Linked DNA regions of Homo sapiens: region 2 is linked to region 1. The links are contacts of gene promoters, found by promoter capture Hi-C in blood cells and fetal thymus (Javierre and others, 2016). All regions are on one chromosome and are shown on one strand. The core of a region is centred on a gene start or on the middle of the fragment in contact, and the rest is flanking DNA. Distances in the headings are between cores, read along the strand shown.

Region 1 (7,216 bases), core at 2,599-5,098:
TGTGCCATTGCACTCCAGCCTGGGCAACAAGAGCGAAACTCCATCTCAGAAAAAAGGAGAAAAAAAAAAAAAGAATTGTCAAGAAATATCTAGCAGAGGTTGCAGAGTGGCCCTGAAACTTATTTTTATAACCTGTGCAATGTTCTGTAATATTTTGAAAGGCTTGTCAATATTTGAAAACAGGGAGATTTCACATGAAAATCTGGCTGTTTGGCGTCTCTCATTAAATCTGAGGTCTGGTATGGCAGGAACTGACTGGAGCTGAGAAGGACACAGGGCACATGCTTTCTGTTCGTCATAGCCTCCACCACCGCATGCTGCTCACACCTGGAAAGTTTCATTGTTTTATATTACCCACTGGGAGCCTCTAGAGGAATCAGTAGCAATGATAGATTGTATGCAAACCAGGTTCACAGGGGAACAGAACCTAGAGGAAAGCAGAAAGGAAAGTTGATGGGGTTGGGCAAGTAGGAAAGAGAGAGGATGCAGATGACAAGAGAGAAAACCAGTCCTAAGAGTTGCCTGAGTTTCTGCCCTTGTCAGTTCCAGTAGTGCCCACAGTCACCCTCATTGTAATTTCCTTTTCTTGAGATAATTTGCAACGCAATTAGCCAGGCTAAGGCAGGGAGTTACTAGAAATTGCTGGATAACAGCAACAAGGAAAGTAAGACAGTGTAAGCCTTTTGCTGACTATGTATCCTGACCAAGGAGTACCAGGGAGGAGAGATTGAACAACCTCTGCTCAAGAGGATGTATGGTCAACAATGTTCTCAGAGGAAATCAGCAGCTTTCTATGAAGAACTATGGGTGTCCAGGGTTCCAGAGGGTTTGTAGAGAGGGACTGAGAAGTTTGGGGAGAAGAAATTTGGAAGACATTTAAAGTTTGGTACTTTATATTCTTTTAGAGTGCAGACTGGGCCTAGTAAGGAACTTTTACTGTGTGTTGAATAGAGAGGTTTGTATTTCGGCCAAGAAAGCTTCCTGAGGGGGTGGCATAAGAGTGGTGTTTTAAAGAGAAGATGAAAGGGAGATTGCTACACGGGCAGACAGAGTTACAACTGCAAAGGCAGAATTCTTAAGGGGAGGGAGGACAGTTAGTAGTTCGGATCTGGCATCAGGCAGCCTGTGTTTGGCCTGAGTCACCTGGTAATTTATTTTCATATGTTGGGACCTTGGTTTCCATTATTATATAAAAATACAAAAATTAGCCAGGTGTGGTGGTGCATGCTTGTAATCCCAACTACTCGGGAGGCTGAGACAGGAGAATCACTTGAACCTGGGAGGCAGAGGTTGCAGTGAGCCAAGATTGTGCCACTGCACTCCAGCCTGGGTGGTAGAGCAAAACTTCTTCTCAAAAAAAAAAAAAAAGATGAGGATAATAATATTGTATTTCTTTTATTCTAAGACCCACTGCTCCCACCCCATCCCACTTTAATGTTTCTTTATTTAGGACCTATCTTAGAATTGACACCCCCAAATGCTTGCTTTATCACAGGGCAAGGAAGAAAAATTGTGACAGTGTTATCACTAACTGGGTATATGCAAATTTAGCCATCCACAGAAAGATGTTCACTTGGTAATTAGCTTAGTTATTTGCCTTTGTGGTGCCATGCAGTTGAATATTAATTTGAACCCCAAAGTGTCACTTTAGGTATCTTCTAAAAGGCTACACTGTGATTAAGTATTAAAATAATAAGTTATTGTATATGCAGATTAGCTGTCACACATCAGGAACGCAACCAAATATAGTAGAGATTGCCAACTGTCTTGGTAAATTTGACATTGAAGTTACAATGTTAGGGAAGGTTGGCCTGACCACTAATGTGCTTGAGGACCCTGAACATTTAACAGTCAATAGTCTGTTTTTAGCTATCAAGAAAAGCTGTGTGGTTTCCAGGAATACACAATTAAAAAAGAAATCAAGTTTATAAGCAAAGAATAAATGAATATAATGCTTCTATATTCTCTGAAATGCCTCAGAATTATACTGTTAATTTTCCTTTTTCCTTTTTTTTTCTTTTGATACAGTGTTTTGCTCTGTCTACCCAGGCTGGAGTGCAGTGGCACAATCATGGCTCACTGCAGTCTTGACTTCCTAGGCTTAAGTGACCCTTCCACCTCAGCCTCATGAGTAACTGGGACTATAGGCATGTGCCTGGCTAATTTTTTGTATATTTTTGTAGAGTTGTAGAGACAGGATTTCACCATGTTGCCCAGGCTGGTCTGGAACTCCTGGAGCAAGGAATCTGCTCACCTCGGCCTCCCAAAGTGCTGGGATTACAGGTGTGAGCCACCATGCCCTGTCTATACTGTTAATTTCTAAAGATGCTAAAGAGATCAAGATATCTCTTGATGGGTTACGAAAAACAGTATGTCATCACGCTATACTTAGCCAGACGGTCAGAAAGTTATATTAAGACTTTAGAAGGCTGGGTGTGTGGCTCACACCTGTAATCTCAGCATTTTGGGAGGCTGAGACAGAAGGATCACTTGAGGCCATGAGTTTGAGACCAGCCTGGGGAACGGAACGAAATTGTTTGATTGTTTTTGAGACAAACAAAAACTTCAGACAGTGAAAGTGAGAGAACTTAGACTTAAGCCCTTTGATTATAGTACTGAAGAGGCAAATGGTACAATTAAAATAGCCAACATTTACTGAATGATCGATATGTGGCACTGTGTTAACCGGACAACTTCATCAGATCTGTGTGTTATGTTCATTTTAAAGTGAGAAAGCTGGGACCTAAATCCAGGAAGTTTGCCTCCAGATTCTCACTCAGAGCCACTATGCTGTTAGAACACCCTGTATATTCATTTTTATAGATACGCCCGTGTTTTTTAGGTTGGCTTAAAAATTACTCATTACATATAAGACATCTTTGTACTTTTTACAATCAATGGCATCTTAAAATGAAGGAGTATGGTAAATACCTGCCGTGAGGATCAGATGATAAGTATCTTAAAGTGCTTCTAGAAAAAGTGTGGATTAGAGGGGCAGGTGTTGCAAGGTGAGTACGATGAGCCTGGTCTTCAGAACCCCACCATGGCAGAACAGTGAAAACCACCAGGAGCAAAGTGTCAGTGAGGGGGAATGCTTTCGGCAGTTTTGAGAGGAGTTCCTCCACACGAAGCACCCTACCTCCCATACCTGCCTAAATCTTTCTATGTCCAACCCAAACGGCAGCTCCTTCAGGAAGTGGTCTCTGGCTATATGAGAAGATGTACATGGGAGCAATTTCCAGATTATGAAGCTATGGAACAAATACATGAAAGATGGATTTTATCACTAAAGTTATCCTCGCTCCTCTTCTGGCCTCAGTTTCTCTAAACTGAAAGGAATAGGTGGCTTAGCCTATCTCTTCCTTTTATAATTTCTGCCTCTAACCTCTTCAGATTTCTGCCAATCTGCTTTGAAAAGCAAATTTCCTTCCTCAGACCTGCAGGAGACTGCTCCTCTGGGCTGGCAGCTCAGCAGGGCGGGGCTCGGGGAGCAGGAGAAGAGGCGGGGGCTCGGAGGGAAGCGCGGCCGCAGCCACGTGACTTCCTTCCCAAGGAACCTCAGCTGCCGGCCTCCCAGCAACCGGTGCGTCCCGCCTAGCGACGCCCGCGCATCCCGGTTGGCCCTCGGGGGCGGTTGTGGCAAGGAGGTGCCCACGGTCGCGCTGCTCATTGGCTCGGGTTGCCGTCGCTCAGACCCGTTGCCCGGGCGCCCGCAGGCGGTGCTGCCGGATGCCCCGCCCCTTGGCCGCCAGGTTCGTGGCTGGCTGGCCGCTGCTGTCACTCCCCGGCCGTTTCCCTGCGGCCAGCGCTCTACTTGGGGCGGGAGGAAGAGGGGCGGGACTGGGGCCTGACTAGTCGTCGCCGTCTTCGCGGCTGCTATGACCAGCGGGCGAGGCGCCCTTCGCAGCTCCGCGCAACGCTAGTCGCGGCCGTGCGCCCGCCGTAGCCGTCTGCGTCCCAGCGCGGCCGCTCCCGCGGCCCCCTCGGCTTTGCCAGCGCCGCCTGCGAGGCGGAGGCAGGATGAAGATGACTGTGGATTTCGAGGAGTGTCTGAAGGACTCGCCCCGCTTCAGGTAACCGGCACGGCCGCCCGGCGTCACCGCGGAGCTGCCTTCCCGGCGCTGGGGGCGTGAAAGCCGGGCCCGCGCACCCGGAGGAGGCCCCGCCGTCCGCTCCTTCCGACGGGGCGAGCGGCTGTTGCCGCCGTTTCCCACCCTGCGAGGGCACTGCAGTCCCCACCGAGCCCTCCCGAGGGGCGACGAAGTGGCGGGGACGGGGACGTCGCCTCTCATTTCTTTCCTTGCCCTCTGCCGGGGCGGAGCGCCCCGAAGGCCGGCGCACCCTCTCCCGCTGGGGGAAATGGGGTGCAGCCGCGCTCCCGAAGTCCCGTCCCCTTCGCGGGCGCTCGCTCTCGCCCCCTTCCTCCTCTGGCTGCTCTTCCTTCCCCCTTCCTTCCGCCCCTTCTTGGTTTCCACCCCCTCCCCACCCCCTCTTTGAGGGAGCTTTCAGGGCATCCTCTTGCAGTTCATTTAGTTCCTCTTTGCGCTTTTCTGCCCCCCTTCCCCGGGGAGGAGAGAGTAGGGGGCGAACTGGGACGCCGACTTCTGCTTCGCGGTGCCCCCGGCCAGAGCGACTCTCCGGAGGGCGCCCGCGGTGGATGCGTGCGGGAATCGCGGGGGGAAGCGCTGTGATCAACCGCATTCCGTGGACCCTAGTTGGTGACTACCTGCTTTTCTTTCCACTTAAGCTCGTTGAAGGGGGCACAGCTGTCGAGAGGTACCGGGCTGAGGGCGGAGGACTAGCAGAAAAGTGCATTTCTGTTTTGAGAACGGAAGTAGGAGGGCCGTGAAGATTGCCTGTGTGTTCCTCTTCCAGCAGCCTCTGCCCAGGAGGGCCCGGATCACAGTCGGATGCTCCCAGTGGATCTGTCACAGAGTTGACATGGGGGCACTCCGATTCACATGGGTTGCCCTTCTTTCTATGTGAGAGGCGGTCGTCCTGAGGCCGTCCAGGACACAGGTTCTTTCTGTTTTGAGGATAGTAGGAAAGTCTTGAGTTGTTTTGGACAATGGAGTTTTTCTAGGTTGCGTTTTACAGTGTATTTATTTACAGGGCTGGTCATAGTCCTTACAAATATAAGGCCTTAACACTTCCGTTAGATAGTGACATTTCTTGAAGCTTCCTCTGAGCACTGGCGTGTGTGTGCCCGCTAATGTCTGGGCCAAGCCTGGATTGTAAATTGCATCCTCTGCCTGGGAACTAACTGTTCTCATCCTTAACACTGTTAATTGGATTTCTTATTCTCCTTTCAGCGAAAAAGAAAAGAATTGTAAAACTAAGGAACTGCTACTTAGAGAAAATTTAAGAACGCTTTTTGCGTTTGCCCTTTGATGATTTTTGGGTATTAATTTTATTGGAGCCTAGGGCTATTATTTAAAAAAACCCACTTCCTTTGATAGCTGTTGTTGCGATTCATTTTTGAAACTTTTATGTTCTGCATTATTGAAGGACTCAAGAGACACAAATAGATTTCCTAGGACAGGCGTGCAGGTTGGTTTCCAGGACAGCATGGCAAGTGGAGTAATTTTTAAAGTGCACCTTAGAAAGTTCAGCTTTTTGTGAAATTTTGTTACTATGACTCAGCTATTTATTTTTAAGTGAAATAATCACAGCATTTTTCCCTTAGAAGATGTAGCTTTGAACTCCCTTTGTTTCACATTAATTTTTTTTTTTTTTTAAGTTGAGAGAAGTGATTTGGAAATACTTCTAGCTACTGGGGTTGGTCACAAACCATGTGATGTCTTTGTTTTTGAAATAAAGAAATCATTGAATATAAAATAAGAGGGCAACATACTGATTAAGTTGTAGGGAATATTATAGTGAACTTTTGTTAAACTTGATTGTAACATAAATTCTATGTTAATTAAAATATTACAGGTTTTCAGGAGTTGTTTCCCATATTCCAATTATTGTTAGCTGCAAATTGGGAAGAGATGCCAAAATTTCAATAACTTCAACATCTTATATACATTTTGGGGACAAATTAGATTTGCAATAGAGGGAAGACTGCCGAGAAATAGAAGTTTCATTATTCATATTCTTAATTTTTTATAGTTTTTCCATAATCCTATTACTATGAGGATCTGTATAGCATTTGAAAAGAATATTTGAGAAGTCTTCATTCACATGTTGTATGTATAAGAAGAGCTTTACTTTTGAGAGTATTGTGTATGTTGAGTGATAGTGAAACTTGTATCAAAATAAAAAGCTTGTGAGGCCTGGGCTTGTTTTTTGGTAGTAAGGCAGCTGCACTTGTGTCCTGATCTATTGGGCTGTCTTTAAATTAATACGTGTCTTTATTCATAAATGAATCTTGTGGCATTTAAGTCTAGTGTGTGCACATAACTGTCTTGGTGCTGTAGAATTAATGCAAAAGGCACATCTTGCTGATGAAAATTTCACCACTGTTCAAGCTTTAAACATCTATTTTCCTGTTAAATCAATGAGGAGAATACAAGGGGACTGGTTGAAATAGGGAGAAGGATGTTGCATTTGCAACATTGTCTTTTGTAATTTGAATAGTCAATGGTTACTTTTACATCCCAGTGAACATTTTTTTTTTGTTTTGGATTGGAGGGCACATTTCGTTGTATAATTTTGGGTTCCCTTTTTGGTTTTTTAAATACCAGTTTAAAATCAGCTTAAAGGTCAAAATCTTGTTCATCTAAAATCTAAAAACCTTGTTCATCTAAAAATCTACAGGAATGTAAAGTGCCTAAGTATACTTTTTTTTGAGTGGAAATTTTGCATTTTGGCCAAAATATGTTGAAGTTGGAATTTGTTTGGGCCCTTAATTGTATGTAGTTGCATGTAGTAGGTCTTTAAAATTTTACAAAACCTCCGTAAAAGTACTGCTTTTCTTTTACTTAAACATACTCTTGGGCTGAACACTGTGGCTCACATCTGTAATCCCAGCACTTTGGGAGGTGGAGGACGGCGGATCACTTAAGGTCAGGAGTTTGACACCAGCCTGGCCAACATGGTAAAACCCCATCTCTACTAAAAATACAAAAATTAGCCGGGTGTGGTAGTGTGCACCTGTAATCCCAGCTACTTGGGAGACTGAGGCATGAGAACTGCTTGAACCTGGGAGGCAGAGGCTGTAGTGAGCTGAGGTTGTGCCACTGTACTCCAGCCTGGGCAACAGAGCGAGACT
Region 2 (4,033 bases), core at 1,526-4,025, 850 kb after region 1:
AAAATTAGCTGGGCATGGTCCTGGGCGCCTGTAATCCCAGCTACTCAGGAGACTGAGGCAGGAGAATTGCTTGAACCTGGGAGGCAGAGATTGCAGTGAGCCGAGATCGTACCATTACACTCCAGCCTGTGACAAGAGTGAAACTCCATCATACACAGATAGATAGATATAGATAGATAGATAGATAGATAGATAGATAGATAGATAGATAGATAGAAAATTAGGCCAGGTGCTGTGGCTCATGCCTGTAATCCCAGCATTTTGGGTGGCCAGGGTGGGAGGATTGCTTGAGCTCAGGAGTTCAAGACCAGCCTGGGCACCATAGACCTCATCTCCACTAAAAAAATAAAATAAATGTCAGCCAGGCATGGTGGTACACACCTGTAGTCCCAGCTACTCAGGAGTCTGAGGCAGGAAGATCAGTTGAGCCCAGGAGATGGAGGCAGCAGTGGGCTATGACCATGCCACTGCACTACAGCCTGGGCGACAGAGCAAGCCCCTCTCTCAAAAAAATTAATTAATTGATTTTTTTTAATGAAAAATGTTAAGGAGTTGAACATGCTTTTGTTTTAATGTGATAATAACCCTAAATCCTGTGGACTGCTCGGACTGCCTGCTATTTAATTTAATAGACATTCCCAGATCAATGTAACAGATATTCATAGATTCTTAGCTCATGTCAGAAACATATGTTTCCCAGGCGCTGCAGGAGGTGCTGGAGTAACAAGGGCAGACGTGATGCCTGCCCTGCAAGAACTTGAGTCAGACATATTTGAGGTTTGGAGTGGAACCAACCATGCAGTAAACACTGACTACAAATGAATCTTGGCTGGTAGCAAATACCCCATATTTGCAAGGCAGGAATTTTATTGGCATCTCAGTTTTATGGGTTTGAGTTGAATCATCTCAGCCATGTGGTTAATAAATGGGAGATTTATTATTATTACTGCTACTCCTCCTAATAATAATAATAATTTCTACTAATAGTAATTTTTAAATCTTGATAGATTGTAATTTTTCCCAGGACGTGCAGCCCTTCATAATTATCATAACTATCTCATTGATCATTTAACTAAATTGTAACTGCTAGTAGCTGCTGCCTTCCTGCTTGCTGAAGTCACCTGTTCCTTTGCCCCCAACCATCTAAGGGCCTGTCTCCTGGCTCACTGAGCAGACAGGAGCTGGTCCTGAGCTCTGCTCTGCTGTGGGATGGTGGCAAAATCTGTCCAACACTTTTTCTGTCTCTCTTTTTATTCTGCAGCAGAAGTATTGGGAGGCCCTAAACTCGGAGCAGGTATGGACGATCATGCTCTTTCTCTTCCAGGAGGGACTTCCTATGGCTTGATTTCAGTTCCTGTTTTTGTTAGACCTTGTTAGATGGCTAGACCCATGACAAATTCCTTCAGTAAAAAAAGAATGTCAGGCCAGGCGCGGTGGCTCACACCTGTAATCCTAGCACTTTGGGAGGCCGAGGTGGGCGATCACCTGAGGTCAGGAGTTCAAGACCAGCCTGGCCAACATGGTGAAACCCTGTCTCTACTAAAGATACAAAATTAGCCGGGCATGGTGTCACATGCCTGTAATCCCAGCTACTCAGGGGCTGAGGCAAGTGAATCGCTTGAACCTGGGAGATGAAGGTTGCAGTGAGCCGAGATTGCACCATTGCACTCCAGCCTGGGCAACAAGAGTGAAACTCCATCTCAAAAAAAAAAAAGTCAAAATGAGAGGCAAGACTGAGGATGAATGGGATTTTCAGGGCTCTCTCAGGTCAGAGTTCTTTCTGCTTTGGGGGTATTCAGGTAAGCCCAAGTAATAGGGACTCCAAGAAGACGTGTAACCCAGTGAAGAAACATGGTTTGGAACAACAGTAGTAGTGGCCGGCATGGCTGCAGTAGCTGTTGCAATAAACAGTTCCAGACATTGTCATTCTGGGACCCTGGGCAGCTGGCTGCTGTCTCCATGCCACCCTTGCCTCCAAGTGACAGGCATGTTTTGTGACAACTACCTGTGCCTGTCATCTCCCAGGATTGTTTCTGATATGAAAATGGATCTTTTGCTCAGATTCTCTTCATGCCTGGTTTCCAGCAATGATTTTTTTTTTTTTTTTTTTGAGACGGAGTCTCGCTCTGTCGCCCAGGCCGGACTGCGGACTGCAGTGGTGCGATCTCGGCTCACTGCAAGCTCCGCCTCCTGGGTTCATGCCATTCTCCTGCCTCAGCCTCCCGAGTAGCTGGGACTACAGGCGCCCGCCACCGCGCCCGGCTAATTTTTTGTATTTTTAGTAGAGACGGGGTTTCACCTTGTTAGCCAGGATGGTCTCGATCTCCTGACCTCATGATCCACCCGCCTCGGCCTCCCAAAGTGCTGGGATTACAGGCGTGAGCCACCACGCCTGGCCCAATGATTTTATTATAAAATGAAGTTTTTAGGCCGGGCACGTTGGCTCACACCTGTAATCCCAACACTTTGGAAGGCTGAGGGGGGCGGATCACCTGAGGTCAGGAGTTGGAGACCAGTCTGGCCAACGTGGCGAGATCCCCATCTCTACTAAAAATACAAAAATTAGCCAGGTGTGGTGGTGTGTACCTGTGGTCCCAGCTACTCAGGATACTAAGGCAGGAGAATCACTTGAACCCAGGAGGCAGAGGTTGCAGTGAGCCCAGATCATGCCTCCAGCCTGGGTGATGGAGTGAGACTCTGTCTCAAAATAAATAAATAAATAAATAATGAAGTTTTAAAACACATTATTCTGGAGAGTCAGAAAAAATAGATTCTAAATGTTTTCTAAGATTTGTACCACTTTATTTTTACTTACTTATTTATGTATTTATTTATTTTTTGAGACAGAATTTCACTCTTGTCGCCCACGCTGGAGTACAGTGGCGTGATCTCGGCTCACTGCAACCTCCGCCTCCGGGGTTCAAACGATTCTCCTGCTTCAGCCTCCCAAGTGGCTGGGATTATAGGCGCCTGTCACCATGCCTGGCTAATTTTTTGTATTTTTAATAGAGATGGGGTTTCACCATGTTGGCCAGGCTGGTCTCGAACTCCTGACCTCAGGTGATCCACCCGCCTCAGCCTCCCAGAGTGTTGGGATTACAGGCGTGAGCCACCACACCCAGCCTATTTATTTATTTCTTGAGATGGAGTTTCGCTCTTGTTGCCTAGGCTGGAGTACAATCACACAGTCTCAGCTCACTGCAACCTCTGCCTCCCAGGTTCAAGCGATTCTCTTGTGTCAGCCTCCCAAGTAGCTGGGATTACGGGCGCCCACCACTATACTTGGCTAATTTTTGTATTTTTGGTAGAGACGGGGTTTCACCATGTTGGCCAGGCTGGTCTTGAACTCCTGACCTTAGGTGATCTGCCCGCCTCAGTCTCCCAAAGTGCTGAGATTACAGGCGTGAGTCCCCGTGCCCGGCCTGTACTAGTTTAAAGAGCTCACCTGATCAAAGTGACAGGTTTCTGTCTGCAGGCTGCTGAACTGGTCACGGTTGGCAAGAATCATTCTTCAGCAGCCATTTAAGAAGCTCGAGCAGTGGTTCTCAATCATCAGGGCATCTAAGAATCACCCTAGGAGCTTGTAAAAATGCCAAACCTTAGGTCTCTACCCCCTACCCAGGGGCTAGGGTGGGCCCCAGCATCAGTGTTTTTAGCCAGCAGCCTGGGTGCTTCTGGTGTGGCTGGTCAAGCACACGCTGTGAGAACAATGATCTAGGTCTCAGGCCTCAGCTTAGAAACCGTTTTCATCAAAGAGCACACTGACCATCCTCAGAGAACAGAACAGGGCCCTACTTTTTTCACTGGGCAGGTGGGTCACGTAGGCTGAGGGGCCTGGTGAGCTCTTTTATTTGGGGTCTGATAAGGTCAGAAAGGAATTTGGTTCAAGGGGTCCAGCCAGGTCTGCGACCGCAAGTTAATGCGATGTTCTCACTGGAAGTGGCTGGCACAGCCCCAAACAGGTGCAGGGGACGAGCTGCCCAAACCCAGTCACTGCAGGGTCACTGGGAATCAGGTGGTCTTTTTAACATGA

Evidence for each region. Contacts are between HindIII fragments. The CHiCAGO score rates a contact against its expected background, and 5 or more counts as called.
Region 2: a contact is called between a fragment that was not itself captured here and the fragment with the promoter of ACAP2 in region 1, in 1 of 17 cell types (neutrophils). The highest score is 5.3, in neutrophils.

Annotation. Positions count from the first base shown.
Region 1 is chr3:195,439,652-195,446,867 of GRCh38, reverse strand. It overlaps ACAP2 (ArfGAP with coiled-coil, ankyrin repeat and PH domains 2), which reads left to right and starts at 3,848. Exons shown (of 23, transcript NM_012287.6): 1 at 3,848-4,073. The coding sequence starts at 4,021. RefSeq lists silencers at 3,484-3,983, 4,104-4,323, 4,344-4,393 and enhancers at 3,805-4,304, 4,844-4,933. The HindIII fragment of the contact is 4,201 bases long and covers 980-5,180 here.
Region 2 is chr3:194,590,302-194,594,334 of GRCh38, reverse strand. All of the region lies in intron 9 of TMEM44 (transmembrane protein 44), which reads left to right. TMEM44-AS1 (TMEM44 antisense RNA 1) reads right to left here. Exons shown (of 3, transcript NR_047575.1): 3 at 3,503-4,033. Among named protein-coding and RNA genes, the nearest start is that of TMEM44-AS1, 8.0 kb to the right of the region's middle. The HindIII fragment of the contact is 6,556 bases long and covers 1-4,033 here.